3 separate regions of the Homo sapiens genome follow, and regions 2 and 3 are each linked to region 1. The links are contacts of gene promoters, found by promoter capture Hi-C in blood cells and fetal thymus (Javierre and others, 2016). All regions are on one chromosome and are shown on one strand. Each heading gives the region's core, a stretch centred on a gene start or on the middle of the fragment in contact. The rest is flanking DNA. Distances are from core to core; before and after follow the strand shown. Region 1 holds the start of PFN3 (profilin 3). Region 2 has its middle 32 kb from the start of N4BP3. Region 3 has its middle 51 kb from the start of N4BP3.

Region 1 (4,893 bases), core at 1,538-4,037:
AGCTTGGGGCCCCGGCGTCCCCGCCTCACGCTCCTCTCCGCCCGGGTTAGCTCTGTTGCGCCTTCAGGAGGATGCGGACGGCAGCTGCGCGCTCCTGTCGCCTTACGTTCAGCCGGTGTGCCTGCCAAGCGGCGCCGCGCGACCCTCCGAGACCACGCTCTGCCAGGTGGCCGGCTGGGGCCACCAGTTCGAGGGTAGGCACAACTGCTAGGGGCAGGGGTAGGGGAGGAGACCTTTGATCACTGGGTTAGGCGGAAGAAGCCCGCGACTTTGGTATCGTTCCGGGTGCCTACAGAATGGGTGGCGCTGACCTGATGGGTTGTGAGAATGTGTAGGTGAATCCCAGGTAGAATCCCAGGGCCTGGGATTCACTGCTGGGATCCCCAAATCTCCTGGGGATACAGGGAGAATCGAACTTGCTCTTGGTTCCCTCTGGGCGCCGGGCTGCAAAGGCCAACTAGGACGCTGGCCCCGCGCTCCGGGCTAGTGTGGGAGCCAGGTTCTGCGACTCTGGATGGGTGGTGGGGGAGGGGTTTCTGTTTCCGCTCCGCCCATTCAAATCCTGGCTTTTCTCTGGACCTCAGCCTCCTTGCCTATGAAATTGAATTAATGGCACCTCCTCCCCTTCGGGCTTGCTGCGAGAGAGGAAGGGCATGAGTGGGTTTACAAGCGCCTGGAGCAGCTTTGTCCATCGTCCGGGCGGCAAGCGTTGTCAGATGGGGTGTGAAGAAGGCGCTCTGTGTTCGCAGGGGCGGAGGAATATGCCAGCTTCCTGCAGGAGGCGCAGGTACCGTTCCTCTCCCTGGAGCGCTGCTCAGCCCCGGACGTGCACGGATCCTCCATCCTCCCCGGCATGCTCTGCGCAGGGTTCCTCGAGGGCGGCACCGATGCGTGCCAGGTGAGCTCTTAGCCCGGTTGGCGCCCTTCCCCGAGGCCGTCAGGCACAAATCTCAGGTCCACAGCGCTGAGCTGCGTGTTTCCGACCCAGGGTGATTCCGGAGGCCCGCTGGTGTGTGAGGACCAAGCTGCAGAGCGCCGGCTCACCCTGCAAGGCATCATCAGCTGGGGATCGGGCTGTGGTGACCGCAACAAGCCAGGCGTCTACACCGATGTGGCCTACTACCTGGCCTGGATCCGGGAGCACACCGTTTCCTGATTGCTCAGGGACTCATCTTTCCCTCCTTGGTGATTCCGCAGTGAGAGAGTGGCTGGGGCATGGAAGGCAAGATTGTGTCCCATTCCCCCAGTGCGGCCAGCTCCGCGCCAGGATGGCGCAGGAACTCAATAAAGTGCTTTGAAAATGCTGAGAAGGAAAGCTCTTTTCTTCATGGGTCCCGCCGGGAAATGCCAAGACAGAAAAGCGATTCACAGCTTCTCCACAGCTCTCAGAGAACAAGGTCTATGAGATCTTAACGTGCAAAATCTAGATGCCAGCCCAGCTAATGTTTACTGAGCCTAGGATACTGTATACCAAGCCCTGTGCAAGGAGAAGCTGCATGTTATTCCTTATGAGAAACTAACATTTTGTTTACAGAGCAGTAGTTCTCAGACCATACATTAAGATCACTTGGGGAGCGTTTTGAGCCAATCTATGCCCAAGTTCCACCTCAGACCAATTAAATCAGTATGTCTAGGGATGGGGCATGGGTAGTGGTATATTTGTAAAACTCCCCAGATAATTCCATGTACAGCCAAGGTTGAGAATCGTGGTTAGAAATACTTAGCATTGGCCGGGCGCGGTGGCTCACGCCTGTAATCCTAGCACTTTAAGAGGCCAAGGCAGGTGGATTGCTCAGGAGTTCGAAACCAGCCTGGGCAACACGATGAAACCCCGTCTCTACTAAAATACAAGAAATTAGCCGGGCACGGCGGCGTGCGCCTGTAGTCCCAGCTACTCAGGAGGCTGAGGCAGGAGAATCACTTGAACCGGCAGGAAGGAAGGAAGGAAGGAACAGAGGGAGGGAAAGAGAGAGACAGAAAGAAAAGAAAAAAGAAAATAGAAAAAAAGAGCATTGACTGTGGCGTGGACCCTAAGGGCTGGGTGACATATCGTTGTCCCCACCCCAACACGCACTAGTGTAGTGGGTCTGAGAGTCCCTTGGCTAGCAGTACCATCACCAGGGAACTTGTTACACATAACAAATTCTCGGGCTACACTTTATACTGCTGAACAGAAAGTCTGGGGTGGGGCCCAGCAATCTGTTTAACAGCCTTGCGGGGGATTCTGATGTTCTCTCATGCTTAAGAACCACAATCTGGGGGTTGAATGGTTGGTTCCCTTACAAGTGAAGGTCTGGCTGTCCAGACACAACATCCTTTTTTCACAAAACCAGCTTTTTAAAATTAAAAATAGATTGGCCAGATGCGGTGGTTCACGCCTGTAATCTCGTCACTTTGAGAGGCTGAGGCGGGAGGATTGTTTGAGCTCAAGACTTCCTGACCCGCCTGGGCAACATAGTGAGACCTCATCTCAAAAAAATTTTTTTTAATTAAAATTTGTTTTTGCTTTTTTAGAGACGGGGCCTCGCTCTGTGGCTCAGGCTGGCGTGCAGCGACACGATCCTATAATAGTTTACTATAATCTCGCTACTGAGTTCAAGCGATCCGCCCGCCTCGGCCTCCCAAAGCGCTGGGATTACAGGAGTGAGCCGCTGCGCTCTGCCAAACCCATCCTACAGGATAACCTTAGAACTGCGACAGCACTAAACGCCCACGCCCCACGTGCCCCAGCCTGGGTGGTCGCTCCGGGACGGCGCCTTGTGTGACGTCACAGCCCCGCCCAGCCTGCCTCACAGCGCCGCAGGCCTTCCCCGCGTGGCGCCTCTATATTTCCCCGAGAGGTGCGAGGCGGCTGGGCGCACTCGGAGCGCGATGGGCGACTGGAAGGTCTACATCAGTGCAGTGCTGCGGGACCAGCGCATCGACGACGTGGCCATCGTGGGCCATGCGGACAACAGCTGCGTGTGGGCTTCGCGGCCCGGGGGCCTGCTGGCGGCCATCTCGCCGCAGGAGGTGGGCGTGCTCACGGGGCCGGACAGGCACACCTTCCTGCAGGCGGGCCTGAGCGTGGGGGGCCGCCGCTGCTGCGTCATCCGCGACCACCTGCTGGCCGAGGGTGACGGCGTGCTGGACGCACGCACCAAGGGGCTGGACGCGCGCGCCGTGTGCGTGGGCCGTGCGCCGCGCGCGCTCCTGGTGCTAATGGGCCGACGCGGCGTACATGGGGGCATCCTCAACAAGACGGTGCACGAACTCATACGCGGGCTGCGCATGCAGGGCGCCTAGCCGGCCAGCCAGGCCGCCCACTGGTAGCGCGGGCCAAATAAACTGTGACCTGGGCGCGGCTGGCTCCTCCTCCACTTGCGCGGTGGGGGGAGTTGTAAATAAGGAAACTGGTCTTTGCAAGACGGTTACCTGGTGGAGCCGGGATTTTGAGTCTAGAGGCTGCCAGGCCCCTGTGCCCTACACCCTGCTCTCCCATGGACGCCTTGCAGAGGCTCCTGGCCTGACTGCTGCTCCTTGGCGCGTTCCCAGGGTCCTAGGGACTCCGCAGCTGAGGAAGAGTCCAAGGGTGGGGGCTTCTCAAAGTCTGTTTCAGCCTTAGCGTCCTTTCTCAGAGATATTCCCACACATTAGGCAGGACAAGTAAAGGGAGCCCCCTCCCCATCCCGCGAACACCTCTCCCCATCAGGGTGTCAGGCTGGAGGCCAATTTGCTCCTCCCCCCTCCACTCATACCTCAAGCACTAGCAAGTTGTGAGTGGGTGACAGGATGGGCTTGGTGGCTTGTAAAGCAGTTCTGGGGCTCACAGGCCTCTGCATCTCTGCCCACATTCCTCCAAGGGGAGCCTACTGAGAGGGCTCATGTCCAAGACCATCGCAATTGGGTTTGAGACCTTACATCCTGCCTTCCCCAGGCCTTCGAAAAGGCCCCGCAGGAGTCCCTGGACTAGAGGGAGGAACTCTGGCATCCCTACCCGGGAGTCTCACTCTGCAGGCCTCAGTTTCAGGGTGACCTATGGAGGAGGGGGAATTGAAAAGCTTGGGTAAGTTTGAGGCCTGGTTTATTGCCCAAAGATAGTGGACAAAAGTGGGAGGGAGGGTGTCTGGTCCCTGCCCTCCATGTGCTGGGGCCCAGGGCATGGCCTCTCTTGCCCACCCCCACCCTTCCCGTCCCCTCCCCCAGCGGCCCTGATGGCAGACCCCACCTGTCACTTATTCTGGAGCCCTGATCTTATCCCAGCAGGAAGGAGTGATGTGTGGCTGAGGTGGGTGAATTTAGAGGGCAGAGGGAGACCAGAGGAAGTTCAGCCAGGTGGGGGTCAGGGGGTGGGGGTGCAGAATCCTCCTTACACTTGCCTTGGGGGTGGCCCCAGGCCTAGGAGGGGCTTCCAGGGAGTTTGAATTGTGGTTTGGACTCACTAAGGTAGGGCCAGGCAGATGGTTGGGGTGAGCCTGCAGGGCTGGCTTCTCTGGAACTGCACCTGGCCTGGGCAGGGCAGGCTGCTCTTGCAGCCAGTCTTTGAGGGGAGATGGTGCTGCTGAACCCCCTGGCTTGGTCTTCCCTTTGCCATTGATGGAGAGCAAAAAGACTTCCGAATGCCTGAGGAGAGTTTTAATTCCTTTGTTTTTTTTCCATCAGGCAAGTGTTGGGAAGGGAATTAATTGTGGTGGTGCCGAAGACCTGGGTTAGGATGAGGAGATGGTATCTTGGAGGAAGGAAGGTGGCAAGGAGGTGTGCAAATTCAGTAACGCAGGCACCAACATCTATGCACAAACAGCTGCACAGTCATATACCCAGACCCACCCTTACTCCTGCCTATCCTAGTCATGTGTACACGTGCAGAGGACCTGAAATCATACCCAGATATCCTGCAGCCTGCACACAGCCTCC
Region 2 (4,893 bases), core at 1,312-3,811, 680 kb before region 1:
CTGGATGACTCCGTCGTATGTCCCATCCCACTGGCCTCCCTGTCTCGGCACCTGCAGGCCCCGTCGCCCAACAGGCAGTTCTTCCTGTGGTTACATCCTACTCATTCATCCAGGCCCTGACCACATGCACATCCTCCAGAGACCCTCGCTTGTCTCCCTGTTGGAAAGTGCTCCCTGCTTCCCTCCTCTGGCCACCCACAAAGCCATTGCTATCCCTTATCAGCCCTTTTCTACATACACATGCACACATGCACACACATGCGCACACACACGCACGCACGCATACATGCCCACACACATACACACGTGCGTACACACACACATCCCTTACCAGCCGCTTTTACACACACACACACACACACACACACACAGAGCTAAGCATCCGCTGTGTAGATGCTGGGGAAGCAACTAGGGAAATGACCTTTGGGAGTGTTAAAGAAAAAAGTGAGGGTGGGCAAGGTGGTTCACATCTGTTATCCCAGCACTTTGGGAGGCCAAGGCATGAGGATCACTTGAGCCCAGGAGTTCAAGACCACCCTGGCCAACATGGCAGGACCCGGTCTCTACAAAAAATTATCCAGGTGTGGCAGCGCATGCCTGTAGTCTCAGCCACTCTGGAGGCTGAGGTGGGACTATCGTCTGAGCCCGGGAGGTCAAGGCTGCAGTGAGCCGTGTTGGTGCCTGTAGCAAAACAAAACAAAACAAAAGTCATTCAATAATACTTGTTAAAGCACAGTAAAGGTTGGGTGCACACAAGGTAAAGGCAGGGCTCACGCCTGTAATCCCAGCACTTTGGGAGGTCGAGGTGGGTGGATCACCTGAGGACAGGAGTTTGAGACCAGCCTGGCCAACATGGTGAAATCCCATTTCTACTAAAAATACAAAAATTAGCTGGTCAAGGCCGGGCGCAGTGGCTCACGCCTGTAATCCCAAAACTTTGGGAGGCCGAGGCGAGTGGATCACAAGGTCAGGAGTTCAAGACCAGCCTGGTCAATACGGTGAAACCCGTCTCTACTAAAAATACAAAAATTAGCCGGGCGTGGTGGCAGGCACCTGTAGTCGCAGCTACTTGGAAGGCTGAGGCAGGAGAATTGTTTGAACCTGGGAGGCGGAGGTTGCAGTGAGCCAAGATTGTGCCACTGCACTCCAGCCTGGGTGACAGAGTGAGACTCTGTCTCAATAATAATAATAATAATAAAATTAGCTGGGTGTGGTGGCATGTGCCTGTAATCCCAGCTACTCGGGAGGCTGAGGCAGAGAATCACTTGAACCTGGGAGGCGGAGGCTGCAGTGAGCCAAGATCGCGCCACTGCACTCCAGCCTAGGTGACACAGTGAGACTCCATCTCAAAAAAAAAAAAAAAAAAGAAAAAAAAGCACAGTAAGGCAGACTTTATTCAGGACCATGGAGATAGACACAGGAACTGCTGGAGTGGGCTCTTGCAGTTGGGGAGAGAGACTGGGCTCAACTCCCAGTACAGCATGGGCGAGTGGGGGGTGATAGCCAAGGAGCAGGGTGGGGGCCAGGGGATGGGGAATTACTAAGAGCAACATCAGGGGTCGGGGATTCTAGCTAAACTCACCTAACACGATTCTAGCTGAAGACAGGCTAGGGTGACCAGACATCACCAGAGGGGTGATGGGGAGGAGAAGCCTGACCAGATATCAAGGGTGATCAGATATGGAGGGTGGGGGGTTTCTGCCACAGTGAGCTAGCAGGGTTCTTGCTAAAACTGGATTGTATAAGGAAGCACACAGATGGGTCTAGGAGAAGCCTCAGGGGCCCGACTAATATTGGGTCAAGCAGAGTCCTTGTCAGGAGCCTCCGGGTGACTTGTCTGTCTGCACACCTCAGGGGAGGAGAGGCCCCTGACCTGGGCTACCAGGCCAGACTGAGAATAAACTCCTCTACGGAGAAAACATTCAGCAACCTGTAACTTAAAAGAGGACTTTCCAGACTGCGAAAACAACCAAAGCAAGGTCACTGCGTCTGAAGGGGCGTGGCCCACCTGGAGCCCAAGGCAGCCTTCCCTTCTGGGAAGGCGGGGAGGGAGCTGAAAGGGAGCAGAGGCTGACCACAAACTGTCCTGGAGGCTACGCTCAAGACTTTTTTTTTTTTTTTCTGAGACTGAGTCTGGCTTTGTCACCAGGCTGGAGTGCAGTGCCGCAATCTCAGCACACTGCAACCTCCGACACCCTGGTTCAAGCAATTCTCCTGCCTCAGTCTCCGGAGTAGCTGGGACTACAGGCATGTGCCACCACACCCAGCTACTTTTCGTATGTTTAGTGGAGACGGGGTTTCACCATGTTGACCAGGATGGTCTCGATCTCCTGACCTCGTGATCTGACCACCTCAGCCTCCCAAAGTGCCGGGATTACAGGCGTGAGCCACCGCGCCCTGCCAAGACTTTTGTTGACTCCAGCATAATTGGAAAACCAGTTGAGTTTTTAAAGCACAGAGGTTACATAATAAGTCTGTATTTTGCTAGAATGTAAAACCCATCAGGGCAGGGATTTTGGTCTGTTTTATTTCCAGAACACCTGGTAATAACTGAATAAACAATTGTGTAATGTATGAGTGAGCGAATGAGTGAATGGGCTGCAGGAAGGTAGATCATGCTGGCCACAGTGCAGAGATTGACTTAAGTGGGCAGAGTCTGGGAAGGGAGGTCAGGAGGCTGGGATACCAGGAGAGAATGAAAAGGGCCAGTTGGTGCAGAGAGCAGCCGGGGACAGACTGGAGGGGACAAGTGGAGAGGTTTAGAGGTGACTTTACAGTGTACTTCATACTTCAAAAGTCTGGCACAGACTAGCCATTTGTGGACATTCTAGATCTGATCAAAAGCAGAACCACCTGGCCCTTGACTCCAGCAACACCATGGCTGGCCTGGAATTTCCTCCCCGGCAACGGTCGTTCTCACAGCATTTCTTCCCAGTTTACTTAGAGCTTTCGCAGACATTGCCTCATCAGATCCTTATCACAGCCCTGAGGATGGGGACTCATTAGCTCCATTTTACAGACTCAAAAACAGAGGCCAAGAAAGGTTATGTGACTTCCCTGGGGTAACACATGGGAAACATGGAATTCAGATCCAGGTCCACCAGTCTCTGCCTCCAGGGTCCTTTCTGCTTCCTCACTCAATTGGAGAGATGTGATTAGCAAATGTGAAAGAGAGCACCAGGCAGCGTGTGGATTCAGCATGAAATGGGATATTAAGAGTGATATTAATAATAATGCATGGCTCTGATGTTCATCAAGCACTGCTGTGTGCCAGCTTCTACTCCAAGCACTTGACCCGAGTCCCCTCATTCATTCCTCAGACACTCTTTGAGTTTGGTCTGTCATTCTCCCCATTTTACACGTAGTACTGGCCAAGCACGTGAGGGACACCACTGTGGGCTTAGCCACCAGGGAAGGCCTCAGAGAGGACGTAAGATGCGGGCAGGGGAGGAAGAAGGCACCTTGAGGCAGGCTTGGCTTGAGCGAAAGTGTGGAGGAGTGGGTGAGAAAGGAGGGGAGAAGCCAATGGGTGCATGAGACAAGGCCCTGGCCTGCGTGCTCTCCAGGAGGGGCCAGGCCTGGCATTGAGGTCTGGCCACAGTAAGTCCCTAGGGCAGGGGCTGACAACAGGGTGATGAGGGTGCCCTGGGCTTCGGTGAGGAAGAGGGGTGGGAGAGGGAGACAGCTGGCTGGTCAGGGCACTGCGGGTTGGTTTGGAAGTCCTGTGCTCAATCTGTCCTCCCACCCCAGCCTCCCAAGTAGCTGTGACCACAGGCAACGCGACCACACCCAGCAAATTTTATTTATTTATCTTTTTGAGACAGGGTCTCACTCTGGTTGCCCAGGCAGGTGTGCAGTGGTGTGATCTCTGCTCACTGCAGCCTCAACCTCCCTGGCTTAGGTGATTCTCCCACCTCAGCCTCCCAAGTAGCTGGGACTACAGACAAGTGCCACCACACCCGGCTAATTTTTGTATTTTTAATAGAGATGGGGTTTTGCCATGTTGCCCAGGCTGGTCTCAAGCTCCTGGACTCAAGCAATCCGCCTGCCTTGGCCTCCCAAAGTGTTGGGATGACAGGCATGAGCCACTGTCCCGGCCAGCACCCAGCAAATTTTATGTAGCACATTTTAAGATGCCAGTAAACCAGAGGTTGCACACTGGTGCCCATAGGTTTGTTTTGTTTTGTTTTGTTTTGTTGTTTGTTTTTGAGATGGAGTCTTGCTCTGTCGCCCAGGCTGGAGTGCAGTGACACAATTTCGGCTCACTGCAAGCTCCGCCTCCCGGGTTCATCCATTCTCCTGCCTCAGCCTCCCGAGTAGCTGGGACTACAGGAACCCACCATCATGCCTGGCTAATTTTTTTGTATTTTGAGTAGAGACGGGGTTTCACCGTGTTAGCCAGGATGGTCTCGATCTCCTGACCTCGTGATCTGCCCACCTCGGCCTCCCAAAGTGCTGGGATGGTGCCCATAGGTTTTTGTTTGCTTCACAGTGTTGATTCATATAGTGTGTTGTGTTTGAAAAATTAATTGAGACCATCCTGGCTAACATGGTGAAACCCCGTCTCTACTAAAAATACAAAAAATTAGGTGGGCATGGTGGCACGTGCCTGTAGTCCCAGCTACGTGGGAGGCTGAGGCAGGAGAATCGCTTGAACCTGGGAGGTGGAGGTTGCAGTGAGCCGAGATCGCACCACTGCACTCCAGCCTGGGTGACAGAGTGAGACTCTGTCTCAAAAAAAAGAAAAAAAAAAAAAAAAAGAAAAACTAATAACCAACTCAAAAAATCAACATTTCAAATCCAAACCCAAATTATACTGATTCCTATTCGAAAACGAGAGGATCTGGGGATGCAGGGCCTCACTTCTGCATGGCAGCAATTGGCTGAAACACC
Region 3 (4,893 bases), core at 1,520-4,019, 660 kb before region 1:
TCATCTCACGGACCACATCTATTTCTCTCCAGAATTTCTGGTGACCCTGGGACAAGCCACAGAGGTAGCTGCCACCTCCAACAACACAGGGCCCTCTTGCTGGTGGGTCCCATCTGGGGAACTTCTGAGATCCAAAGGGGGCTACGTATGATGATGTGCAGACGACAGGCACTGACAACTCGTGTGCTCCCCAGCTCTCCTGGAGCATCAACGAGAAAGCATTTTTATTTTTCATAACTGCTGCAGATACACACAGTCCTCTTTTGGTTTAGATTAGATTTTTTTCTCATGAGATTTTATTTTCCATATGTAAGAAGCATATATATTTATACGTGCATATATAAGGTGTGCAAAATAATGAAATGAGCCCTTATGCACCCAATAGGCTGCTTAAGAAATAGAATGCTGGCCGGGCACAGTGGCTCACTCCTGGAATCCCAGCACTTTGGGAGGCCAGGCAGGAGAATCGCTCGAGCCCACAGATATGAGACCAGCCTGGGCAACATAGTGAGATCCTGTCTCTACAAAAAATTTAAAAATTAAGCCGGGCGTGGTGGCTCACGCCTGTAATCCCAGCACTTTGGGAGGCTGAGGTGGGCGGATCACGAGGTTAGGAGATTGAGACCACCCTGGCTAACATGGTGAAACCCCGTCTCTACTAAAAATACAAAAAAAAAAAATTAGCCGGGTGTGGTGGCGGGCGTCTGTAGTCCTAGCTACTCGGGAGGCTGAGGCAGGAGAACGGCGTGAACCCGGGAGGCGGAGGTTGCAGTGAGCTGAGATCATGCCACTGCATTCCAGCCTGGGCGACTGAGCAAGACCCCGTCTCAAAAAAAAAAAAAAAATTAGCTGGGTATGTTGGTGCATGCCTGTGGTCCCAGCTACTCAGGAGGCTGAGGTGGGAGGATTGCTTGAGCCCAGGAGGTCAAGGCTGCAATGAGCTATGATCGCAACCTGGGCAATGGAGCAACACCTTCTCTGGTAAAAAAAAAAAAAAAAAAAAAAAAAAAAGAAGAAGAAGAAATAGAATGCTAAGTATATCTTTGAAGCCACTGTGAGCCCCTCCCAAATGCATCCTCTCCCTCCTTATCCCCCTAGTAATCTGCTCTCAGCTTTTATCGCTTCCTTGCTTTTCTTCATGTTTACCACATTTACGTATGCATGCACATATTGTTGAAGAATATATTGGTTAGTTTTGCTTGTTTTTGAACTTTATACAAAGGTATTATATATTTTTTGTATTCTGTGATTTGCTTGTTTTTTCCTCAACATTATGTTTGGAGGGTTCGTTCATGTTGATGTGCGCACATATGCAGTTTCATTGTGTATCACAATTTACTAATCCATTATCCCATTGGACACTTGGCTTGTTTCCTGTTTTTATTTTTTCTTAATTACAAACAAGGTTACCTTGGGCCCTCCTACCTGTCTGTGGAGCACATGAGTAAGAGTTTCTCTAGCATATATCGTTAAGAGTGAAACTGCTGAGATGAAAGGTATAAACATGGCTAACATGCACAGGAGACTTCCAGTTGCTGTATGTCTTCACCAACACAGGATACTGTTGACTTTTAATTTGTGTCAATCTGCTGGGGATACACTGGTATCTAATTATGTTTTTGAAATTTAATTTTATTTTTTTTTGTAAGGTCTCATTATGTTACCCAGGTTGGTCTCAAACTCCTGGGCTCAAGTGATCCTCCCAGCTCGGCCTCCCAAAGTGCTGGAATTACAGGCATGAGCCACCGCACCCGGCTTGCTTCTTATTCTTGTTATGATTGTTTCCTATAAAGAAAAGAGGGAAATCCTGTCTTTAATTCGCCATGTTCAAATCAGAAATGTACTCCCTTTTCATCTTAGCTTTACATTGCGTTCTCTTTCTTCCTCCTTTGATTAGTGTTGCTAACAAATGTGTCGATTTTATTAGTCTTTTCAAAGAAACCATTTTTGGCTCTTTTGATTCTCTACTGCTTCTTTTTCTTCTCTTATTTTGCTGCTCTTATCTGTGTCTTCCTTCCTTCGACTTCTGTTCCTTCTTTTCTTTATCTCTCTCCTTCTCTTTCCTTCCTTTCTCTCTCTCTCTCTCTCTCTCTTTCTTGTTTCTTCTTTCTTAACAGGGCCTCTGTCACCCAGGTTGGAGTGCAGTGGCATAACCATGGCTCACTGCAACCTCCACCTCCCAGGTTCAAGTGATTCTCATGCCTCGGCCTCCCGAGTAGCTGGAATTACAGGCGTGCACCACCATGCCCAGCTAATTTTTGTATTTTTAGTAGAGACAGGGTTTCTCCATGTAGGCCAGGCTGAACTTGAATTCTTGACTTCAAGTGATCCACCTGCCTTGACCTCCTAATTTTTATATTTTTTGTAGAGACGGGGTCTCACTTTTGTTGCCCAGGCTGGTCTTGAACTCTGGGTCTCCAGCAATCCTCCCTCTACGGCCTCCCAAAGAGATGGCATTACAGGCATGAGCCACCGTGCCCCAGCCAGCTCTCAGATATTTTGTCGAAATGAGATAATGCATCATTGAAAAGCCGTGATCGGTTCATGACAAAGAAACAGGAATACAGCAGGATCCTTTTGGACAGGAGGAAATGCTGAAGGATCTGATTAGTATTTCACCTGGGGACCTCCAAGAAAGGATCTTAAGGCATATACTTGGTTATTCTTTCCGCCTTGGACTTGTTCACCGTCGTTTAACCACACAGGGGAAGTGCAGTAGGCTTTTCTGCCAGTTCTGCATCCGCAGCGAGACTGTGGGCCCAGGTTCTCAGACACAAATCCTAACGGCAGATGGCAGTGTTGCACACAATGGAGCCAGCGTTAAGTACAAAAAGAATTCAAACAAGTGTTATAAATAAATATTTAGGCCAGGCGCGGTGGCTCACACCTGTAATCCCAGCACTTTGGGAGGCCAAGGTGGGTAAATCACCTGAGGTCAGGAGTTTGAGACCAGCCTGGCCAACATGGCAAAACTCCATCTCTACCAAAAATGCAAAAATTAGCCGGGTGTGGTGGTGGCAGACACCTGTAATCCCAGCTACTTGGGAGGCTGAAGTGGGAGAATCGCTTGAACCTAGGAGGCAGAGGTTGCAGTGAGCTGCGATTGTGCCACTGCACTCCAGCCTGGCCGACAGAACAAGACCCTGTCTCAAATGATAATAATAATAAATAAATAAATATTAAAAGTTTAGGCTGTCCTGATCACCACTTGAGGCAGCTGGGACATTAGCTGAGGAGCTTCAGACTGAACCACACATTATCCACATGCCAACTCTTCCCCAGGCCACCACCAGTCTCACTGTCAAGGCCGGTACACGGCTTCTCAACATGGAGAAGAAAAGCCACAAGGTGGCCGGGCACGGTGGCTCATGTCTGTAATCCCAGCACTTTGGGAGGCCGAGGCGGGCGGATTACCTGAGGTCAGGAGTTCGAGACCAGCCTGGCCAACATGGTGAGTCCCTGTCTCTACTAAAAATACAAAAATTAGCCGGGTGTGGTGGCACACGCCTGTAATCCCAGCTACTTGGGAGGCTGAGGCAGGAGAATCACTTGAGCCCAGGAGATGGAGGTTGCAGTGAGCCGAGATTGCGCCACTGCACTCCAGCTTGGCTGACAGAGCGAGACTCTGTCTCAAAAAAAAAAAGAGAAAAGCCACAAGGCTCTGAGTGAGTCCTAATGCTTGCCACTGCAATCAGACATGCTCTGTAATCACGCTAAAGACGGATGGCAATCTAGACAGTAAGAAGGAGCTGAAGGAGCTGGCTTGTGTATGACATCAGGCATTGCCCTGAAAGATAAGGAAGATAGTCTGGGTGCAGTGGTTCATTCCTATAATCCCAGCACTTTGGGAGGCCAAGGCAGGCAGATCATCTGAGGTCGGGAGTTTGAGACCAGCCTGACCAATATGGAGAAACCCTGTCTCTACTAAAAATACAAAATTAGCTGGGCATGGTGGCACATGCCTGTAATCCCAGCTACTCGGGAGTCTGAGGCAGCAGAATCACTTGAACCAGGGAGGCGGATGTTGCTGTGAACTGAGATCACGCCATTGCACTCCAGCCTGGGCAACAATAGTGAAAACTCTGTCAAAAAAAAAAAAAAAAAAAGAAAGAGAGAAAGATGCCAAATATCAAAATGTTATAAACTCTGTGTGATTCCATTTATATGACATTCTTGAAAAGACAAAACTGTAGTGATGGAGAACAGATCAGTGGTTGCTAGGAGGTGGGGGTGGGTGGGGGGTGACTGTGGAGGGCAGCATGAGGGAGATTTTGGGGTGATGGAACTGTGCTGTGTCCTGTTTGTGGTGGTGGTTGCATGAATCTATACACTTGTTAAGATGCATTGAACTGTAAACATCCCCTAAAAATTCATTTTACGCTATGATAATGTAGAAAATAGAGCAGAGAGACAGCAATAACCATTTTCCCAGAAATGGGATAATCTTTAAGCGAGAGCATTTTTTTATAACTATGAATCTGATCAATGAATTGTGTGTCCCTTTCTTTTTCCTGTTACTGGCCTTTATTTATCTTTAATATTCACAGCAATTCTTGGCCCGTTTCACTCCATGTGTTTATCAGCTCCTCTATTCACAGTGTTCCCAAAATGTGCTAGAATTTACCTCCTATATCTAAATGTCCTAGACACAGCATATAAGGACAGAAATTAAGTCAATGAGTGGACAGGAAAGAAGATTTAGTAAATGCAATATTTTGAGAAGTCATTTTAGAAACCCAAGCTGCTAAGCCAAATATTTTAATTCTCTAAACAACACGAGCATTTAGAGGACAGTATTTCTAAGTTTACTTCTACCAGGTAGCATGTCCTTTATCCTTTTAAGAGACCTTCTTTTTTTTTTTTGAGATGGAGTTTTACTCTGTCATCCAGGCT

Evidence for each region. The method cuts DNA at HindIII sites, captures the fragments that hold promoters and counts their contacts. A CHiCAGO score of 5 or more calls a contact.
Region 2: a contact is called between a fragment that was not itself captured here and the fragment with the promoter of PFN3 in region 1, in 1 of 17 cell types (total B cells). The highest score is 5.7, in total B cells.
Region 3: a contact is called between a fragment that was not itself captured here and the fragment with the promoter of PFN3 in region 1, in 2 of 17 cell types (total B cells and naive B cells). The highest score is 9.7, in total B cells.

The regions. Positions count from the first base shown.
Region 1 is chr5:177,398,555-177,403,447 of GRCh38, reverse strand. PFN3 (profilin 3) reads left to right here and starts at 2,787. Exons shown (of 1, transcript NM_001029886.3): 1 at 2,787-3,339. The coding sequence starts at 2,872. The coding sequence ends at 3,285. SLC34A1 (solute carrier family 34 member 1) reads right to left here. Exons shown (of 13, transcript NM_003052.5): 13 at 4,600-4,893. It overlaps F12 (coagulation factor XII), which reads left to right. Exons shown (of 14, transcript NM_000505.4): 12 at 51-194; 13 at 750-898; 14 at 989-1,307. The coding sequence ends at 1,156. RefSeq lists an enhancer at 621-1,478. The HindIII fragment of the contact is 6,138 bases long and covers 1-4,042 here.
Region 2 is chr5:178,078,897-178,083,789 of GRCh38, reverse strand. No RefSeq gene overlaps it. Among named protein-coding and RNA genes, the nearest start is that of N4BP3, 32 kb to the left of the region's middle. RefSeq lists a cis regulatory region at 1,441-2,113. The HindIII fragment of the contact is 6,225 bases long and covers 1-4,893 here.
Region 3 is chr5:178,060,064-178,064,956 of GRCh38, reverse strand. It overlaps the pseudogene FAM153CP. Among named protein-coding and RNA genes, the nearest start is that of N4BP3, 51 kb to the left of the region's middle. The HindIII fragment of the contact is 9,851 bases long and covers 1-4,893 here.